2 separate regions of the Homo sapiens genome follow, and region 2 is linked to region 1. Evidence: promoter capture Hi-C in 16 types of primary human blood cells and fetal thymus (Javierre and others, 2016). All regions are on one chromosome and are shown on one strand. The core of a region is centred on a gene start or on the middle of the fragment in contact, and the rest is flanking DNA. Distances in the headings are between cores, read along the strand shown.

Evidence for each region. The method cuts DNA at HindIII sites, captures the fragments that hold promoters and counts their contacts. A CHiCAGO score of 5 or more calls a contact.
Region 2: a fragment that was not itself captured here is called in contact with the fragment with the promoter of ZNF239 in region 1 in 1 of 17 cell types (non-activated CD4 T cells); the score reaches 5.4 in non-activated CD4 T cells.

What each region holds. Positions count from the first base shown.
Region 1 is chr10:43,570,248-43,577,407 of GRCh38, forward strand. It overlaps ZNF239 (zinc finger protein 239), which reads right to left and starts at 4,369. Exons shown (of 4, transcript NM_001099282.2): 1 at 4,293-4,369; 2 at 3,390-3,430. RefSeq lists a silencer at 4,092-4,151. The HindIII fragment of the contact is 4,716 bases long and covers 3,746-7,160 here.
Region 2 is chr10:42,640,092-42,647,251 of GRCh38, forward strand. LOC105378268 (a long non-coding RNA gene) reads left to right here. Exons shown (of 2, transcript XR_945898.3): 2 at 4,902-5,451. Among named protein-coding and RNA genes, the nearest start is that of ZNF33B, 5.1 kb to the left of the region's middle. RefSeq lists a silencer at 1,490-1,784. The HindIII fragment of the contact is 6,471 bases long and covers 1,054-7,160 here.

The DNA.
Region 1 (7,160 bases), core at 3,119-5,618:
TTCAAGGTCACTGGTCTCCATTCTGAGGAAGAGGGCTGGAAAAGGAGGCTCAAGCCCCGGAGTAAAGGTGGGACAAACAAACAGAAGCAAAGGTTGCTGCCTTCAAGCTCCATCACCACATCCTTTAGCAAGGCATGACCCATGGCATATTAAAAGCAAGTGGACTGGCTGCTCTTCCCAACCAGACCTTCTCTTCAGACCACAGAGAAAAAAAAATTTCTTTCTGTTTAAGGCTAATCTCTTCCTGTGCATTCTAGATCAAATCCCTTCTTCTATCTTCAGAGATGCAAGCCCACCAATTATCTTTTCTCTCCCTTATTTTTTTATCCGTCTTCCATTCAGTTGTCTGGATTGTCTAATCCTCCTTCTCTACCTCAACAATATTCAAACCATTTCAGATCCTGTCAATTCTGCCTCCTAAATTTCCCTCCAATGTGTTACCTCTTTTCCATTTCCACTGCCAGTCTTAGTAAGACCCTTATTTTTTTTCTTACCTAGGCTACAATAACTCCTTACCAATTCTTTGTAGTACAATTTTTGTCATCTTCCAGTCCCTAGGTTAGACAACCAGAGTTATTAATTTTTTAAGGTCCTCAAGATAAAATGGCAGGCGGGACTCCATTCTGAGAAGGGAAAGGATATGTTGGTGGACTACTAACTTTGTGGTAGGTAAAAAAAATGACAGGAGTAGACCAAATGAAAAGAATCATTGTGACAAGGGAAAGGAGAAAAGGAAAGGAAATTAGTGCTCCTGTTAAAGCAAGACAAAGGTGGGACTGAAACACTGAATAATCAACAGTCTTCCCAGGTATCAGTGGCACTAAGGAGTCACTCCAAGGCTGTGCTCCTGCTTACAGTTGGGAGAGCAGACTTGATATTCTAAAGGCCAACCAAAGAGGAAGGTCACAAGTTCAATTGTTTCCTGTTTCTATCAGACAAATGTCGACCTCCTCAGAACTACATACATGCCATCATGTGGCCTTCCACTTCTTTCTAGAGCCCATCTCTGCTGTATCTAACAATTTACTTTGAAGTGGAAAAGCAGGAAGAGGCACACTAGATTACCTGGAGTCATTCAACACATTACACTTGAGTCTAGCACAGTCCTTTCTATAGTAAGCCCTAACTTATTGAGTTCTCCCATCCATTTTGGAGCTTTCAGTCTCAGGACAATAGCCTCTTTCTGAAGCATGAGGATGAGTTAGAATTCTCCTCCTCTGAGATCTCATAGCATCTTTCACATCCCTCTACTATAGCTATTAAGTCTCTCCCAAGTTGGCTGGAAGATTCTGAAGGATAGGGGCTACACTCAACTCATCTTTGTTGTTTGAAACAGAGTCTCACTCTGTTGCCCAGGCTGGAGTGCAGTGGCATGATCTCAGCTCACTACAACCTCCACCTCCCGGGTTCAAGAGATTCTCCTGCCTCAGCCTCCCGAGTAGCTGGGATTACAACAGGCATCAACATGACCAGCTAATTTTTGTATTTTTAGTAGAGATGAGGTTTCACTATGTTGGCCAGGCTGGTCTCAACTCCTGACCTCAGGTGATCCTCCCCACTCAGTCTCCCAAAGTACTGGGATTACAGGTGTGAGCCACCATGTCTGGCCTCAACTCATCTTTAAATCCCCAGCAACTACCACAATTGACTTGGAATCTGAAAGATAAATATAAATTCACATTCAATTTAAATGAATAATAATACAACTAAAAGAAAACATAAAGATGGTCAAGCCCAAGACCCTCAGTTTACAGAGAAAAAAACCACAGTTCATAAGGGCGAAGTGACTTACCCAATGTCACAGAGGAAAAGCAGGGTTAACTAAGACTCCCGCCTTTCAGCAGACCTAAGGACAATGTGTGGTACATAGAAAACACACAATGCTTGGAATGAAGTCCTTCCTTTAAATTAAAAAAGTTGTTGTGTAACACACACCAGAATCTCAAAATTTACTAAACTGGCAATCCCCAGTTGCAGCGGCAGTGAATACTTAATCATTAGGGAGCAGGCAGAAGCGAAGGAAGGAAAATGTATTGATTCTACTAAGGTTAATCTCCCTTGAAGTCCTCAATTACTTTTCAGGGCACAGAGAAGCCATGCTCTCAGTACCTCAAGTCAGCTTACTGTCCTCTAAACAGATTTTTTCTAAGAGCTCATGTGTGTGAGGGCTGTATTTGCCAAGCAAAAAGATGGCCTTTGCTGGTAGTGTTAAAAAACATTTTTTTTCCCTTAAAACGCAGTCTGATATTTTATTCAAACAACTTCTGATGTGATGACCTGTTTAGTTAATGGAGAAAGAACAGCCTGAAGGAAGAAAACACGGGGTTTATTTCTGGCCTTCTGCTCTCTGAAACAAAGGACAAGGCACTTTCCTTCGGCTCTCTCAGAGTTAGCCGAGTTAGAGCTCTCCACCATAAAACGCCAGGACAGGGCAAAGAGGGGGCCGACCATCTCAAACACCATGGGATTCTAAGTGGGGGCTGACCATCTCAAATACCCTGGGAGTCTAAGGGTTAATTTTGAGGTAACCTCCTACAGATGGTTTTATGGGGACAACTGAAAACTCTCTTTAAAAAAGTACGACTTGGTAATTTAAAATTTACTGGAACAGTTAAATATGTAGACATGCTAGTGAAAGAGAACAAATCAACCTGAGTATAAAGGATGAATAACTCATTTTACCTACCCTAGAGACACTTATAGTGTATAGAGAGATATTTCACAATAAACCTTTGGATGTACAAAGATCAACAGAATAAAAAAGGAGTGAAACTCTCCTTTCACTAGGTCTGGAAGAGAGAAGGAAGCTTAGTTCTTAAAAAACACCACAGAGAGTTCTGATGCATAGCCTAGTTGAAAAGCATTTCTAGAGTGATTTTGTAACCACTGTGCTGCCATTTAACGAATTTCCTCGTTTTTGACTCATAGTTAATAAATTATCACTATTAATATGCATTTTTTTGTGTACAGGTAATATAATATGTTCATCAAGATGGTAAGCTCCTTGAAGAAAAGCACCGTGGTTTATCATTCTATCTGTTTTGCTGAGACCACTTAGCACTGGGATGAGTATGGAATAGCTTGGAATGACTTTCAATGTGAGTGAAATGTCTGGCAGGAAAAGGCAGGCTTTGAGAGGCTCCCCAGGAGGGCACAGCCCACTGCTCTGAGGAGTGGAATAAATTCTTGGAGGCAGGATGGGCCAGTGAAAACTCTCTGTGCAGACCCTGGTGACATCATCTGCTAGCTACATGTCCTTAGTATCTTAATGTCCCTACATCCATAGCTATAAAATACCGTACTGGGGGCCTGACAATAAAGAAAACAACACATGGCACAGGGACATTTCAGGGAGATGGCATTTTAGGAGAAATGGAACGCCAACTCACCCGGACCCTGGTCATTTCTTACTCCCAGAGGGGATGGATTCCTGGAAAGGCAGAGTTAGGGAAAGAGAAAAAGCCATGAAAATCAAGTCCAGCAAGACTGCGGGGAAAAAGTTACTCCGCTCCTGCCTCTGACGCTTCTTCAGTCACTTCCACCCACACTCCCTCCATCAGGTGAGAGGTGAAGCATTTTCTGTCACCACCTTCATCTCTCTCCACAGGGCTTTCGATTAAACAAGCCAAGTTTTCCCCCCAAAACCAAGAGGCTAGGTAAATTCCGCAGCCGCCGGCAGCTCGAAGCCGTGCCCATTTCCTCTGACTTTCCCGATCTCTGTCCTAAAGTTCTAGTTAAGAGGAGAAGCTTCTCGGGATGGATTTCGGTTGCCCAAGACGCCTTCCCCGACCTCATTCTCAGGAGCCTGGCTCGTTCCTGCGGTGCGGGGGCTCAGATGCAAGCTCTTTTCAGCGAAGGCAGTGCTGCGGACAGAAACCTCAGTCTCTTACAGGAGCCCCCGTCCGTCGCCTAACGTCCACCGAAAACCCCCCTGCAATAACGCCCGTCACAGGCGAGGAAAAGGCCGGCGTGGCCAACCACGAAGCCCCCAGCCGGCCCAGGCCAGAGCTCGGCCAGGAGGGAGGAGGGGCCATCGGAGGCGCGGCCGCTCAGCTGCAGGGCCCCACAGGCTTCGGTGTGGCCGCAGCCCGGCCCCGGGGGCGCAGCAGCTCGGAAATGCGGCGCCGGGACACACGTGCCGCCGCGGGCCGCGCCTCCGCTGGTCGCGTGCCCTACCATCGCCGCCCTCCCGGCTTCCGCAGCTCGGCGGCCCAGCGCCTTACCCGCGGCACACCCATTTCCTGACCCCTGAACGCCTCTGCCAGCGGCTGGGGAAGCCCGGCCAGTCTCACCTCCCACGTGGAACCCCACGCCTGCAGGGGCCAGATTCCGGATGCTGACCGCTCGCGCGCCTAGGGCCCCGAAATACAAGTCCCAGCAAGCCGCGGGCGAACCACGCCCACTTCCGGCGCGGGCCCCTGAACTCTGCGCTGTGCGGAGCGGGATTCTTGGGCGGAGGGGACCATCTTTGAGTCAGCGACGCGTGTATTCAAGTCCTCCTCCTCGTTTTTTATTACAAACAAATAAGAATTATTTTAGGAATACCTGTTAAGGTGATTTTCATTTGTTAAAATACTATTGGGGGAAAAGGATGTAAATACCCATAATTTCATCTTTACCTTTCAAAACATTCTGAAGTGAATATTTGCCATTCGGCATCTTCCATCTCACCTCTGAAGTTCATCCATTTAACAGATATTAATTGAGAGCCAACTGTGTACCAGGAGCTGTTCAAGATGCTTGCACAAAAGTCACTGCCCTATTCTAGTTGGGGAAACAAGCAATCCATAAATATAGTAAATATATGGCGTCGTGTGTGTCATGAGGTGGTACTGAAAGCATAGAGCTGGGCGGGGTGTGGCGAGGTGCGTTTGTGGGTGTGTAGGACTGGAGGTGTACTTTGCAATTTTAAATAGGGGATCTTGGAACAAACACAGGAGGTGAGGGAATTAGACAAGTGGCTCCCAGCAGTCAGAACTCTCCTAAACGCACACAAGGGTTGTTGATACCAGGATTTTACGTTTATTTCACTTCTCACCGAGTGACACAGAGCTACCCATTTGGTCTTTTCCCAATTCCTTTCTTTCAGATTTATTTTGGAGAGGAAAGAGATGTTGCCTGGACCTCTCTTCTACATCCTCCCCCTTCCTTGGTGTATTAGTTTCCAATTGCTGTCACAACAAATTAACACAAACTTAGTAGTATAACAAACATGTATTCTCTTAAACTTCTGGAGGTGCCAAGTCTGAAATCAAGTTTTACTGGGCTTTATAAAGTCAGTGTTGGTGGGGCTAGTTCCTCCTGGAGGTTCTAGATGAGAATATTTCTTTGCCTTTTCCAGTTCCCAGTGACTATTTGCATTCCTTGGCTTATGGCTCGCTCCTTTATCTTCAAAGTGCATGACTGCAACCTCTGCCTTCATCATCACATCACATGCTCAGGCACTGGCTCCTCGTGGGTCCTTCTAATAACGACTGTTGTGATTACATCAGGCCCAGCTGGCTAATCTGGGATAATCTCTTGACGTCAAGATCCTTAATTTAATCACATTTCAAAAAAAATCCCTCTTGCCATAGAAATTAACATCCACAGCTTCTGGGGGTTAGGACATGGACATATTTGGGGGACTATTATTTTCAGCCTGCGATGCTTGGAGAGGCCCACGTCCCCTTCGGTCTCCTCCTCAGAGATGCTGTCTTACCTTTTGCCTGGGGAACACAAAATGTCTCCCTTGGACCTTACTCCTCTCCTCATTCTTCATTGGAAAACCACAGAGCTTTTCCCTATTTAGATTTACCACCCTTGCCCTGACCTTCACTTCCTCATGTGCTCACTTCTCTCCTCACTCAATTTAAGAGGCCATGGAGCATGGTTATGGCCAGTCCTGTGTATGTGCCGTTACCCTTAACTCTCTTGTCCCAGTCTTTCTTGGTTTTATTCTCTTGATGGAAACCCAAATCTGCTTGAATCCAGTTCCTGGCCTGCGCCTGTACGGCAGAGGTTGTTTGAGAAAACCACATGGCTGGGATGATTGGTTTCATTTTCAGTTTATAACCATTAAGTTCAAGTGGGCCCTTCACGCTGCCTGGCTATCCTTCTACATTTCTTAGTCCATCCATTCTCCTAAATGACTATTTCACAGGTTCTACTCTCTTTTCATTATTTATTTATTTATTTTTTTGAGCCAGGCTGGAGTTCAGTAGTGCGATCTTGGCTGACTGCAATCTCTGCTTCCTGGGCACAAGCAACCCTCCCACCTCAGCCTCCTAAGTAGCTGGGACTATAGGCTTGCGCCACCACACCAGGCTAATTTTTGTATTTTTTTTTTTAAGAGATGAAGTTTCACCATGTTGTTCGGGCTGGTCTCCACCTCCTGGGATCAAGCGATCGTCCCACCTCAGCCTCCCAAAGTGCTGGGATTACAGGCTGAGCCACCATGCCTGGTCTTCTACTCTCTTTTCAAGCCGCCAACAACTCCTCCCATCTCACTGAGTGCTGATGACTTTGCTTTCTGTTACTGAGTAAAGAGAACTTCTATACCGCCTCACAGGCACATCTGCCCTCCTCTCTGCATTAGAAACTGTATGCTCTACTTTTCATTCTGAGTCACTGGCCCTAGTTCCTATATGAGAAAATTCTTTTGCACCCTGGATGTTAAATGCTTTCTCATGAATGAGGTCCTTCTCTCTCTTCTGTATTTCAAGATTTTCATTCTGTACTGAATTATCAGCATACTAATGAATACACTGTAATATTGTCCATAAAATAAATAAAACCCCTTACCTTGCACCCTATTTCTCTCCAGCCACTACCTCATTTCTCTGCTTTGCTTTACAGCAAAACTCCTAAAAAAATTGTCCCTAAGGGATGTTTCCAATTTCTTTTCTCCCATATTCTCTCTTTTTTCACATGCAAAACCCAAAATTTAATTTTTAACTTAATTTTAAAAATTGGTATATAATAGATGCACATATTTTGGGGGTACATGTGATAATTTGATTAATATTATGTGTAAAGATCAAAGCAGGGAAATTGGGATATCTATCGCCAAGTATTTGTCTTTTCTGTATGCCGGAAATATTCAAATGATTCTCTTCTGGCTATTTTGAAATGTACAGTAGGTTAATGTTAACCATAGCTAACCTACTGGTTTATTGAAC
Region 2 (7,160 bases), core at 3,039-5,538, 930 kb before region 1:
GGTCAAGACATTGAGAACATCCTGCCCAAAATGGTGAAACCCCTTCTGTACTAAAAATACAAAAATTAGCTGGACGTGGTGGTGCGCACCTGTAGTCCCAGCTAGTCAGGAGGCTGAGGCAGGAGAATCGCTTGAACCCGGGAGGTGGAGGTTGCAGTGAGCCAAGATCGCACTACTACACTCCAGCCTGGTGACAGAGTGAGACTGCATCTCAAAAAAGAAAAAAAGAAAAAAGGAAATGCAAATATTTGAGTAAAAATATGTGAAACATATTGAAATTTACATTTTTAAATTTATGCTTTATATACTGAAAAGTTCACTTTATTTGTTGCATAATTTTATGAGTTTTGACAAACGCACAGATTTGTGTAACCACCACCACAAGCAAGATACAAAATTATTTCACCTGTCAATAAAATTCCTCCATGCTACCTTTTGAAAGTCAGATTCTCTAACCACTCTTAGCCTCTTGCAGCCACTATCTAGTCTTTGGGCCTGTATGTTTGCCTTTTTTAGAATATTATATAAATGGAATCATACAATATGCAGTCTTTGAATCTGGTATCTTTTACTTAACACAATGCAATTGAGATCCTTCCGTGTTGTTTTGTGTACCAATACTTCTGTTTTTCTTGCTGTTAGAAACAAGTGCCTGGTGCCGCAGAGAAAACCAGCACAAAGGCAGAAAATTCCTCAGCAAGAGAAATTTACTTCTGCAGAAGGGTGCAGGTTATGCCAGTCATGATCACAAGAGAACACCGAGAAGGGCAGGGCAGGGGTTTTTATCCCTGATGCAGTTCCTAGCACTTCTGTGTCCCTTCCCCATTGGCTGGGATTAGACCTCACAATCAAAGCTAACTCGATTGGCTAAGGTTTAAAATTGACAGGGTCTATTAGGCGGGAAGGAAGGGGGACTGTCCATTACTAAGCGGGAAGGCATATCCGGACTTGTCTGGGCATGGCAAAGGCGGGAAGGTTGTTTACAGAACAGGTAGCTTGGAGACAAGGAAGTACAAGGAAGTTGGTCTTGAGCAACAAACAACAGGGAACTAAAGCTTTCTGAAGAGTAATTTGTCAACTCTGACATTGCTGACTCCTATTTCTTGGTATGGATTTACCAGCTTCCTTGTCCATTCCCCAGTCCAGGGATATGCAAGTTGTTTCCAATTGGGAGAAATTGTAAATAAATAAAATATTTTTAAGTTTAAGATTTGAAAAGATTGTAAAAAACACTAATATACACCTATGGTATGGGCTTGGGGAAATGTTTATTCCCAGTGTATTAATCAGGATTCTCCAGAGAAACAGAACCAATAGGAGGGAGTAAGGGAGAAAGAGACATTGATGATGAGAAATTGGTTCACATGTCTATGGAGGCTAAGAAGTCCAACAATCTGTCATTTGCAAGCTGGAAATCCAAGAATGCTGGTGGTGTAATTCTGGTATGAGTCCAAAGGCTTGAGAACCACGGAAGCCAATGGTGTAAATCCCAGTGCAAGGACAGGAAAGGATAAGATGAAATGTCCCAACTCAACAATGAGGCAGAAAATATGGGTGAATTCCTCCTCTCTGCCTTGTGTTCTATCCAGGCCCTTAGGGGATTGAATGATGTCCATACACATACGGAGGGCAATCTGCTTTACTGAGTCTACTGATTCAAATGCTAATCTCATCTGTACACACCCTCACAGATGCACCCATAAGTAATGTTTAATCCAGACACCCTGTGACCAAGTCAAGTTTACACATAAAATTAACCATTAACCATCACAGCTATTCTATTTTTTTTTTTTTTTTTTTTTTTTTTTGAGACAGAGACAGAGTTTTGCTCTTGTTGCCCAGGCTGCAGTGCAATGGCATGATCTTGGCTCACTGAAACCTCTGCCTCCCGGGTTCAAGTGAGTCTCTCAAGTAGCTGGGATTACAGGCATGTGCTACCGTGCCTGGCTAATTTTTTGTATTTTTCCTAAAGACGGGGTTTCTCCATGTTGTTCAGGCTGGTCTCGAACTCCCGACCTCAGGTGATCCACCAGTCTCGGCCTCCCAAAGTGCTGAGATTACAGGCCTGAGCCACCACACCTGGCCACAGCTATTCATTTTTACGGTGAATTTGATTAACTCTGGAGGCTCATTTTTTCCTCTCATTTCTTCTTCGGTTTTTGTACCTTTTTCCCTTTTACATTTCGTTGACACCTAATAATTGTGCATATTTAGGGGATATAGACTGATATTTTGACATGTGTATAAAATGTATAATGATCAAATCAGGTTAATTAGCATATCCCTCACCTCAGACATTTGTGTGTGTGTTGTAAGCATTCAAAATCCTCTCTTCTAGCTTTTTGAAAATACACAATAAATTACAGTCAATTATATTTATCCTACAGGGCTGTGGAACACCAGAGCTCATTTCTTCTATCTAGCTGTAATTTTGTATTCATATACCAACCTTTCCCCATCCTGCCCTCCCCACTACCCCCTCACCCTCTAATGCCCATAATTCTACTCACTACTTCTATGAGCCCCAATTTTTTTAGCTCCCAAATATAAGTGAAAATGTGCAGTAATTATCTTTCTGTGTCTGACTTATTTCACTTAATGACATCCAGGCCTATCCATGTTGTGGCAAATGACAGGATTTCATTTTTATAGCAGAGTAATATTCCACTGTGTTTATATACCAGATTTTCTTTTTCCATTGATGTGTTGGTGGACGTTTAGGTTGATATTATATTTTGGCTATTGTGAATAGTGTTGCTATAAACACAGGAGTGCAGGTATCCCTTTGATATATGGATTTCCCTTCCTTTGGATATGTGCCCAGCAGTGTGATTGTTGGATTGTATGGTAGTTCCGTTTTATTTTTTAAGAAACCTCCACACTGTTTTATATAGTGGTTGTACCAATTTACATTCCCACCAACAGTGTCTAAGAGTTCCCTTTTCTATGCATCCTTACCAGCACTTATTTATTTTTCTTATAATAGACATTCTAACTAGGGTGAGATGATGCCTCATTGTGATTTTGATTGGCATTTCCCTGATGATTAGTGATGCTGGACATTTTTCATACATTTGTTAGCCATTTGTATGTCTTCTTTTAAGAAATAATTATTCAGATCCTTTGCCTGCATTTTAATCAGATTACTTTTGTTTTTGTTTTTGCCATCGAGTTGTTTGAGTTATTTGTATATTCAGGATATTTGTCCCTTTTGGATAAATAGTTTGCAAGTATTCCCTACCATTCTACAAGTTGTCTCTTCACTTCCATAATTGTTTCCTTTGCTGTGCAGCTTTTTAGTTTAATACAGTCCCACTTCTTTTTGTTGTTGTTGTCTGTGCTTTTGTTTGTTTGTTTATTTTGAGACAGAGTCTCACCCTGTTGCACAGGCTGGAGTGCAGTGGTGTGATTATAGCTCACTGTAGCCTCTACCTCCTGGGCTCAAGTGATCCTCCTGCCTCAGCCTCCCGAGCAGCTGGGATTACAGGTGCCCACCAGCATGCCTGGCTAAATTCTGTATTTGTAGTAGAGATGGGGATTCACCATGTTGCCCAGGCTGGTCTCGAACTCCTGTGCTCAAGAATCTGCCCACCTCACCCTCCCAAAGTGCTAGGATTACAGGTGTACACCACTATGCCTGGCCTGTCTGTGCTTTTTTTTTTTTTTTTTTTTTTTTTTTGAGATGGAGTCTCACTGTGTTGCCAGGCTGGAGTGCATTGGCTTCAACCTGGCTCACTGCAATCTCTGCCTCCTGGGTTCAAGCAATTCTCCTGCCTCAGCCTCCCAAGTAGCTGGGATTACAAGTGTGCACCACCACACCCAGCTAATTTGTGTGTGTGTGTGTATTTTTAGTAGAGATGGGTTTTCACCATGTTGGCCTCAATCTCCTGACCTTGTGATCCACCCACCTTGGCCTCCCAAAGTACTAGGAGTGCATCACCATGCCTGGCCCTGTCTGTGCTTTCTAAGTCTTAGTCATAAAACTTTTGCCTAGGCCAATGCCCTGAAGAGTTTGCTCTAGGTTTTCTTCTAGTATGTTTACAGTTTTGGTCTTATGTTTAAGTCTTTAATCCATTTTGAGTTGATTTTTGTATACGGTGACAGGTAGGGATCAAGTTTTGTCCTTCTGCATATGGATATCCAGTTTTCCCAGCACAATTTATTGAACAGGTGGCCCTTTACACAATGTACGTTCTTGGCATTTTAATTAAACGTTAAAGGACTTATAATATTATAATTCCACTTATATGACTTTGTAATAATAAATTATTGTTGATATATGTGCAAGTATATTTAAATCAATCAGAGTTCAAATGGTAACAGAGAGATCACTCAAGTATTACAACTGAGAGAATTTGATGAAGATTATTTAAAGCAGGTGTTTTAATGGTAAAAATGAACACTGAGCTAACACAGGATGACAACATCAGGTAGCAGCTACCTGTCTAGGGCTGGGAAACAATGGAAAAGATTAAGGTTCTCGGAACCTAGAAACTCACAAGAGTGGCCCCAGAGAGCTAGAATTAGACAAGACAGCGGAGGCAGGGGCAGTGCCAGGATCATGCTGGTACCTCAGGTATTCAGAGAAGAGCTTTGCAGAACTGGAATTCAGATGCTGTCCAGTTGCTAACTGAACTTTCAGGAAGGCATGTTGAAGCACATTGTGTTCACCTCTGAAAGTCGTTACTGTCCAGCTGGTGCTAGTAGCCAGAGTGGGATCAATGTGGAGAGTTCTGGGAGAGCTAAAAGAAGCTGGAGGGTGATCAACATGTTCTGGAATTAGATAGTGGTGATGGTTGTGTAACTTTGTGACTATAATTATTGAATTACACACTTTTAAAGGAGTAAATTTTGTATGTAAATTGTATGCCAATGTTACAAATACTTTTTTTTTTTTTTAGACGGAGTCTAGCTCTGTCACCAGGCTGGAGCACAGTGGCATGATCTCGACTCACTGCAACCTCCACTGAAGAAGGAATTCATGAATTTTACAAGTATAATCAAAGACCACCAAGAAATTTTTACTTTTTCCTTCAAAAGCTAAGTGTAGTGTAGCACCCCCTGCCCATAGTCTAAGTTACAGAAGAATACTAACTGCCTGTTTTTCTTTCTGTGTTGTGAGCCTTATCTGTTCTCACCAGTTTCACATTCCTTGAGGCTCAGTGAGTTCCTGCGCACCTCCCTAGCACAGCTGCAAAGTTACAAGGTTGATATGCATATGTTACAGAAACATAGTTTCCCAAGGATGTGGAACATGTAGTATAGATAAATGTAAAAGACTGATCAACTGCCTTTGTTCTCGCTTGTGTAAGTAGACTTCATGAATCACATAGCTCCCGGCCACTGACTGCTTAAAAGGTGGCTGCATTCTTTCTCCAGGGCTCAGACTTTCCTGGACGCTAGTCCTACTGAGCCAGGTGATCCCCTTAATAAAGGCTTTCCTGAACTCTCTTCAGTCTCTCCCGTCTCTGATTGTCCCATAACATTTCTGGGGGCCTGTCTGGGATTGGAGATGGCAGGTTTCTGTCTCCTTTGCCTGTGGGCTAAAGCCACAGGACGCGGGAGATTTGGGAACTTTGGTGCCACTGGGGAAGACTTAGCCCAGAAGGAGAACGGCTCCCATGTATTGGAGCCTCGCCCTGACAGCGCAAACGGAACCGACTCAGGAGTTGCAGGACAGTCACAGGAGCAGTGCGCTGGCAGACTACTGAACCGCCATAAGGTTGGGCCCTGGAAAAGCCCATCCCATAAGGACAGAAGGGGAGCTTGATTACCTTCCCCGGAACGATCACTTATCCAACCCAGAGTGGCTGGGGGCAGCAGGAGTGGCCTGCCAATTTGGATGAATCTCGTGTCCCCACACAAGCAAAAGTGGTTCACTGGATCTGGAGACAGAAACTGGGAGTGTTTTGGTGTGTGTGAACCTACTCGGGACATAAAGAAGGCTTCTTTCATCTGATCAGTCCTGGGGTAGGAGTGGTTTGTGTATGTGTGTGAATGTGGAAGCCTAACTAAGCTCACTCGGGACATGAGAGAGGCTTGTTTCATCCGATGAGGAGTCCTGGGGCAGGGGAGGTGTGTGAAAGTGTGTGAAAGAGGTGGTCTCGGAGAAGCCAACACGGGGAGTGATGTGGGGAGTTGCAGATCTTAGTGCAGACTGTGTCCCTCAAGGTGAGTGTGGGACAAGCCAGACCTAGGTCACTGCATAAGACCGACAAGATTCACTTCATGGTAGCTTCACAGCAGTAGTTGGCTGTGACCTGGCCAAGCAGCATCCAAACCTCCTGTAATAGGACCCTGTCTGGTGCATCCAAGAGTGAAAGTGAGAGTGAAAGTGTGCCACGAGGGAGGCAATAGGAGGAAAAGTATTGAAGCCAACTCCATTAGAACATATGTTGAAGAACTTTAAGAAAGGCTCTGATGGTGATTATGGAATGAAGTTAACACCGCAGAGGCTAAGAACACTTTGTGAAATTGACTGCCTCTCCTTCAACATAGGGAGGGCGGCCAAGGGAACCATAGATAGGGAAATAATTGGCCGAGTATTTAGGGTGGTCACTGGGGTTGGAGAACAGCCTGGACAACCTGATCAGTTCCCATACATAGACTCCTAGCTGAGCGTGATTCAAACCCATCTGAAATGGCTACAGGCCTGTTTTGAAAATTATTGTAAGACTCTGGTGGCTCGTACAAAACAAGGAACCATAGAAAAGACCCACAAAGTGTAGGCCCAGGAGAAAGAACAGCAAGGAAAACAGGAAAAACCTGTCCTACAGGCCCCACTAGAAGAGCTAGAGACTCCATCCCCTTATGTTCCAATTTATCCGCCTCTGGCAAGGCTTAGGCAGGAAGTCACTCCAGCAGCTGCCTGTGGAGGGTCAGACTCAGAGGAGAGTACCCTTCAAACTTCACCACATAGGGAAGAGCCAGGGTCACTGCCCGATAATTCAAAGGAGGAACTCCAGTATGACGGCCATCTCCGGTCAGGACACGCCCGAGCTTTGCAGATGCCATTCAGAGAACCTAGGGGACAGATCTATTTAGATGCACAAAATGAGGTTCAAGGAGGAGAACGGCTTTATGTTTATCAGCCCTTCTCTACTACAGATATTTTCAACTGGAAACAGCATACTCCCTCCTATACAGAAAAACCCCAGGCT